Regions from separate parts of the Homo sapiens genome. Here region 1 is linked to region 2. Evidence: promoter capture Hi-C in human tissues and cell types (Jung and others, 2019). All regions are on one chromosome and are shown on one strand. The core of a region is centred on a gene start or on the middle of the fragment in contact, and the rest is flanking DNA. Distances in the headings are between cores, read along the strand shown. Region 1 overlaps ZNF141 (zinc finger protein 141). Region 2 holds the start of PDE6B (phosphodiesterase 6B).

Region 1 (2,700 bases), core at 105-2,604, 250 kb before region 2:
GTGAAGAATGTGGCAAAGCTTTTAGACAGTCCTCAAAACTGAATGAACATAAGAAAGTTCATACTGGAGAGCGGCCCTACAAATGTGATGAATGTGGCAAAGCCTTTGGACGGTCCAGGGTCCTGAATGAACATAAAAAAATTCATACTGGAGAGAAACCCTACAAATGTGAAGAATGTGGCAAAGCCTTTAGACGGTCCACAGATCGGAGTCAACATAAGAAAATTCATAGTGCAGATAAACCCTACAAATGTAAAGAATGTGACAAAGCCTTTAAACAATTTTCGCTCCTGAGTCAACATAAGAAAATTCATACTGTAGATAAACCCTACAAATGTAAAGATTGTGACAAAGCCTTTAAACGGTTCTCACACCTGAATAAACATAAGAAAATTCATACTTGAGAGAAATCCTACAAATGTAAAGAATGTGGCAAACCTTTGGATGATCCACAAACCTTAATGAACATGAGAAAATTTATACTGTAGAGAAACCCTGGAAATGTGAAGAACGTGGCAAAGTTCTTTACCTCATTCTCAAACCTTGATAAACATAAGAGAATTCATACCGGAGAGAAACTGTACAAATGTGAAGAATATGGCAAAGCCTGTGAATGGTCCACAAACCTGAATGAGCAGAAGAAAATTATTACTGGAGATAAACCCTGCAAATGTAAAGAGTGTAACAAAACCTTTAAACAGCCCTCACCGGTGAATAAACATAAGAAAAATCATGCTGGAGGGAAGCCCTACACATGTGGCAGAATGTGGCAAAGCATTTAATTGGTCCTCAATGCTTAATAAATATAATTCATGCTGGAGAGAAACTTCACATGTGAACCGTGTGGCAAAGCCTTTAAATGGTCCTCAACCCTTAATGAACGTAAGTGAATTCATGCTGGAGCAAAATGCTTCACATGCGAAGAATGTGGCACAGTCTTTACCACATCCTCAAACTTTGTTAAACATAAGAGAATTTATACCAGAGAGAAACCCTACACATGTAAAGAATGTGGCAAAGCCTTCAATAGGTTCTCAACCCTTACTGTGCACAAGATAATTCATTCTGGGGAAAAAAATGCTACAAATGTGAAAAACGTGGCAGAGCCTTCAGACCATCCACAAACCTTTATGAAAATTCATATTTGAGAGTAGAAGATTCATTCCACAAACTTACATTGAGAAGATATGAAAGATGAATATAAGAATTCATCCTAGATATAAAACCATAGAAATGTAAAAGATGTGACAAAACCTTTAAGCCATACTCCAGGCTTCTTAAACATAATGAGAACTCATACTGGAGGAAAGTCTTACAAATGTGAAGAATGTGGCAGTCTTTAAATCTTCCTCAGTCTTTTCTAATCATAAGATAATTCACACTGAAGAGAAACTGCAAACGTGGAAAGTGTGACAAAGCTTGCAACCACACTCAATCTATTCTAAATATAAGAGAAATGATATTGGTGAGAAGCCACAAAAATATGAAAAATGTGGCAAAGCCTTCAAATGCTTGTCACATCTTACTGTATATATATAATTCCTACTGAAGAAATCCCCTGGAAATGCAAAAAATGTGGCAGGATTTTTACCAATGCTCATCTTTTTGCACATGATATCCTTTATATTCGAGAAAAGTTATAGAAATATAAAAAATATAGAAAAGTCATATCTCCTCACATTTTACTAACTAGCAATGTTCATACTTAATAAAAACATTATAAATGTAATTTCTGTTGAAAGACTTCAGAAAATATAGGCCTTTAAAGTGAAGAAGAGTATTCTTAAGACAAACAATACAAATATAAAGAGGGTTGTAGTACCTGTACTTCTCTCATGGATTTTGTTGTACACATTTTATAATAGGGGAAAACACTGAAGGAGACTTTCTTCAACATCAGAAAATTTATATTGGAGAGAAATCCTACAAATGTAATAAATGTGGAAAAACATTTGTTCAAAAACTGCAGCTTAAACAGTTTACACTAGAAAATATTTTGTAGATGCAGTAAATGTGAAGAAATATTTAGTCTAAAAAGAAGAGTATGTAAACATCAGAGGATTTACAGTAGAAAGAACTAAGGAACTAACACTTTAGACACTGCAGTAAATCAGAGTATTAAGTATTAAAAAAATCCAAAGTTGAACCTATTAGAGAATTTCTTTGTATATAAGTTGAAAAGAAGATTTTTGAAGAGATACTACATTTAAAGTATATTTTTTCACTTGAAAAAAGTATAGATTTTTTGAAAAGCATATAATAGTTAATTCAACTCAAATTATTTCATACTGTTTCAACATTCCTGTTTATGTGAAAGCATGTGATGAATTGTTGCTGCATCAGAGATAAGAGAGATTCTTTTTCATTAGGTGGGCATTATTTGTGAATTTTTACAAGAAAGAGTGAGGACAGAAATGAAAGATCCATGATGAAAATCTAGCAGAGAGGCTTTTTTGTAGTTGACAATATTGAGTGATGCATGAGGTAGGTGTTCAGAGTAATATTCTTCTGCATTATAGTGAGAGAAAATCTGTTTTAGTAGTAAATTGTTTTACCAATTATACATTTATGTAATAAGATACAGTAAATTTTAAAATTATTTTAAGATTATGTGGGAACATAATTTTTTAACTAAACAAAATTTTTAACGTGTTGAAATAATTGTTGCTTGAATGAAGTGTCATTATGCCACCAACTTAA
Region 2 (3,063 bases), core at 32-2,531:
CGTCGCACACCCAGCTGGGCCCACTGTGGACGGCGCAGATGCTGCCTCAGAGCAGCCTCCGAGACAGGCAGCTGCAGCGGTGCAGCCCAGGGCCCTCGCAGAAGCTTCCCCGGGGCCTGGCCTCGTGCTGAGAGAACTCTGCGCTCCTGAGGGCACCTGGCTGTCATGCACACGTGCTCACACGAACACACACACCTACACGTGCGCACACTCACACTCCGTGCACACACGTATGTGCACACTCATGCACGCGTGCACACACGTCTACCAGCTGAGTGCAGTAAAAGAACCACATGAAAACCTTGCATCCTGGTTAAAAGTATGGTGACAACATGGACAGATAAACTGGAAAAGATGGGAAGAAACCTTAAGCCCAGGATCTGGCAGCACAAAGGTGCCTGGAAAGCGACAATCAGCGTTTTTATATTCAGGGAAATCAGGAACACTGCCACCCGCCCGCCAGGCCGGCGCCCATGCCAGACCCAGCCAAGGTGCTTCTGGCCACATCACCCCTGCTGGCCTGCAGGGAGCTGGCCCAGGAGCCGAGAGGCCTATGGGAGCAGGCAAGGCTTGCTGAGGTGACAGCGGAGAGGAGAGGTCGGGCTTTGTTGCCAGGCAGCCCCCCAACATTCAGGTCCTTTTTCCACTGAAAGCCATGTGGCCTCAGAGCGGCGTCACCCCGAAGCTTGTCCCAGCCGGGGCCTGACAGCAGGTAAAGGCTGACTAGCAACTCTGCATCCCTCAGAGTGTGGGGGAAGGTGGATGTGGTCCCACCTCCACATCCAGGGTCCCCTTGCTGGCCTCTGGGCATTTGGGTCCTGGTGTGATTACCCAGCCCCCTCTCCCTGCACAGGGGTGAACTGCATCTCCTGGAGGCAGGGCCAGTGCCCCACCACCTCCCCAGCACACCCGAGCCCAGGTCTGGGCTCCCAGGAGGGCCTGGGGCCACCTGTGGGACCAACCCAAACCCTCAGGCAGCTCCACCAGCAGAAAGCGTCATGCTGTGTGTGGGATAACCTCCTCAGGGGATTAGTTCTCAGGGCCTGGTCCGCTAGAAGCCAAATGCCTGTGCCCAGCCACCCGTGACGCCTGCAACAGGCAGGAGATCCCCCAACAGTTACTCCCAGCCTTCATTCCACAGGGTCTGGTTTTCCTGGAAGGTGGGAAGTCCCAGGGTCTGAGGAGAGGGAGCGCAGGCCCCCATTTGTAGGAGTGAGTCAGCTGACCCGCCCCCGGGGTTCCTAATCTCACTAAGAAAGACTTTGCTGATGACAGGGTTTCCTGGGAGTCCATGCGTGCCTGGAGCAGCAGCGTCTCCAGGGACAGGCAGCCACCATGAGCCTCAGTGAGGAGCAGGCCCGGAGCTTTCTGGACCAGAACCCCGATTTTGCCCGCCAGTACTTTGGGAAGAAACTGAGCCCTGAGAATGTGGCCGCGGCCTGCGAGGACGGGTGCCCGCCGGACTGCGACAGCCTCCGGGACCTCTGCCAGGTGGAGGAGAGCACGGCGCTGCTGGAGCTGGTGCAGGATATGCAGGAGAGCATCAACATGGAGCGCGTGGTCTTCAAGGTCCTGCGGCGCCTCTGCACCCTCCTGCAGGCCGACCGCTGCAGCCTCTTCATGTACCGCCAGCGCAACGGCGTGGCCGAGCTGGCCACCAGGCTTTTCAGCGTGCAGCCGGACAGCGTCCTGGAGGACTGCCTGGTGCCCCCCGACTCCGAGATCGTCTTCCCACTGGACATCGGGGTCGTGGGCCACGTGGCTCAGACCAAAAAGATGGTGAACGTCGAGGACGTGGCCGAGGTGGGTCTGTGCGGAGCCTCAGGGAGGCGGCTGTGTGCATCTCTTGCACCTGTCCCAGGTGTCTAAGGGTCAGCTCGGATCCTCAGGCCTCCAGGGAGGCCTCTTGTCAGGGCACAGGCTAGTTCTGTGCTGAGGAGCAAGTACCTAGAGCCCCCTCCCGGCACTGTGCCCTGGCCGCCTGCCTCTCCGACTCGGCTTCTGGCTCAAGCTGACATCGCATGGCCACTGAGTTGGTTAGACCTGAGTCTAGGAGCCTCGGCTGAAGCAGACTCAGGCTCAAACCGGGGTGCCCCTGATTCTGCATCCACATCCCATGGTGGGGACCATGTAGTCCCTGTGAGGACCCCTGGCTTCCAGGAAGACTGACCAGATGGGGGCTTCAGGGCTCTCTGGGCTGGGAGGGAGGCCCTGCCTTGGGATTTGGGAAGAAGAGGTCACAGTCGAAGGTGGTGCAGACGCCCACAGGGAGGGAGAGCCAGGGGAACCCCAAACTTCCACTGTGGCAGAAGCAGCTTTATCCCATGGGAGCCCACGCCAGCCGCCAGGGGAGAACAAACCTGGTAGCCACTGAGCACAGGGGTCCAGGGTGGGACTGGGGAGGGACAAGAGACAGAATCGAGACAGGCTCACTGGAGTCACTGAAGGAGGGAAGGGCAGGGCCTGTTCATGCAAAGCCTGGGCTAGGGCAGACGCTTCCCGAGGACAGAGGCGGTCCTGGCGGGACTGGAGAACAAGAGGGGTGTGAGGTGCCTGCCAGACTGGGTGAGGGCAGCGGCCAGCAGAGACCTGGAAAGGCCCTGAGGAGCTGCCCGGCAAGGGGGCTCTGAGGAAGAAGGGGAGGGGGGAAGCCCCTTCTCCCTGTCCTGCACCCGTCCCAGCTTCCTCTCCCCTTTTCTGTCCCCACAGCTAAGGAGGCTGCAAGAGGCCCAGGCAGCCTCCGCTCTTGCTGGATGAGCCTTGGGAATTACCCACCAGGCTGCCAGCCCAGGGGCAGGTGTGGTCCCTCCTTCCCAGGCAGCTGGGGAGTGGCAATCCTGGTTTGTTTTCGTTTGTGGGTTTTTTTTTTTTTTGAGACAGAGTCTTGCTCTGTCACCAGGCTGGAGTACAGTGGCATGATGTCAGCTCACTGCAACCTCCGTCTCCCACGTTCAAGCGATTCTCCTGCCTTGGCCTCCTGAGTAGCTAGGACTAGAGGTGCCCGCCACCACACCCGGCTAATTTTTGTATTTTTAATAGAGACAGAGTTTCGTCATGTTGGTC

What was found. Contacts are between HindIII fragments. The study calls those that stand out against the background at their distance.
Region 1: a contact is called between a fragment that was not itself captured here and the fragment with the promoter of PDE6B in region 2, in 2 of the 25 tissues and cell types used here (H1 embryonic stem cells and dorsolateral prefrontal cortex).

The regions. Positions count from the first base shown.
Region 1 is chr4:373,459-376,158 of GRCh38, forward strand. It overlaps ZNF141 (zinc finger protein 141), which reads left to right. Exons shown (of 4, transcript NM_003441.4): 4 at 1-2,700. The coding sequence ends at 404. Among named protein-coding and RNA genes, the nearest start is that of MIR571, 25 kb to the left of the region's middle. The HindIII fragment of the contact is 4,529 bases long and covers 1-2,700 here.
Region 2 is chr4:624,292-627,354 of GRCh38, forward strand. PDE6B (phosphodiesterase 6B) reads left to right here and starts at 1,282. Exons shown (of 22, transcript NM_000283.4): 1 at 1,282-1,803. The coding sequence starts at 1,336. RefSeq lists enhancers at 958-1,947, 1,948-2,936. The HindIII fragment of the contact is 19,693 bases long and covers 395-3,063 here.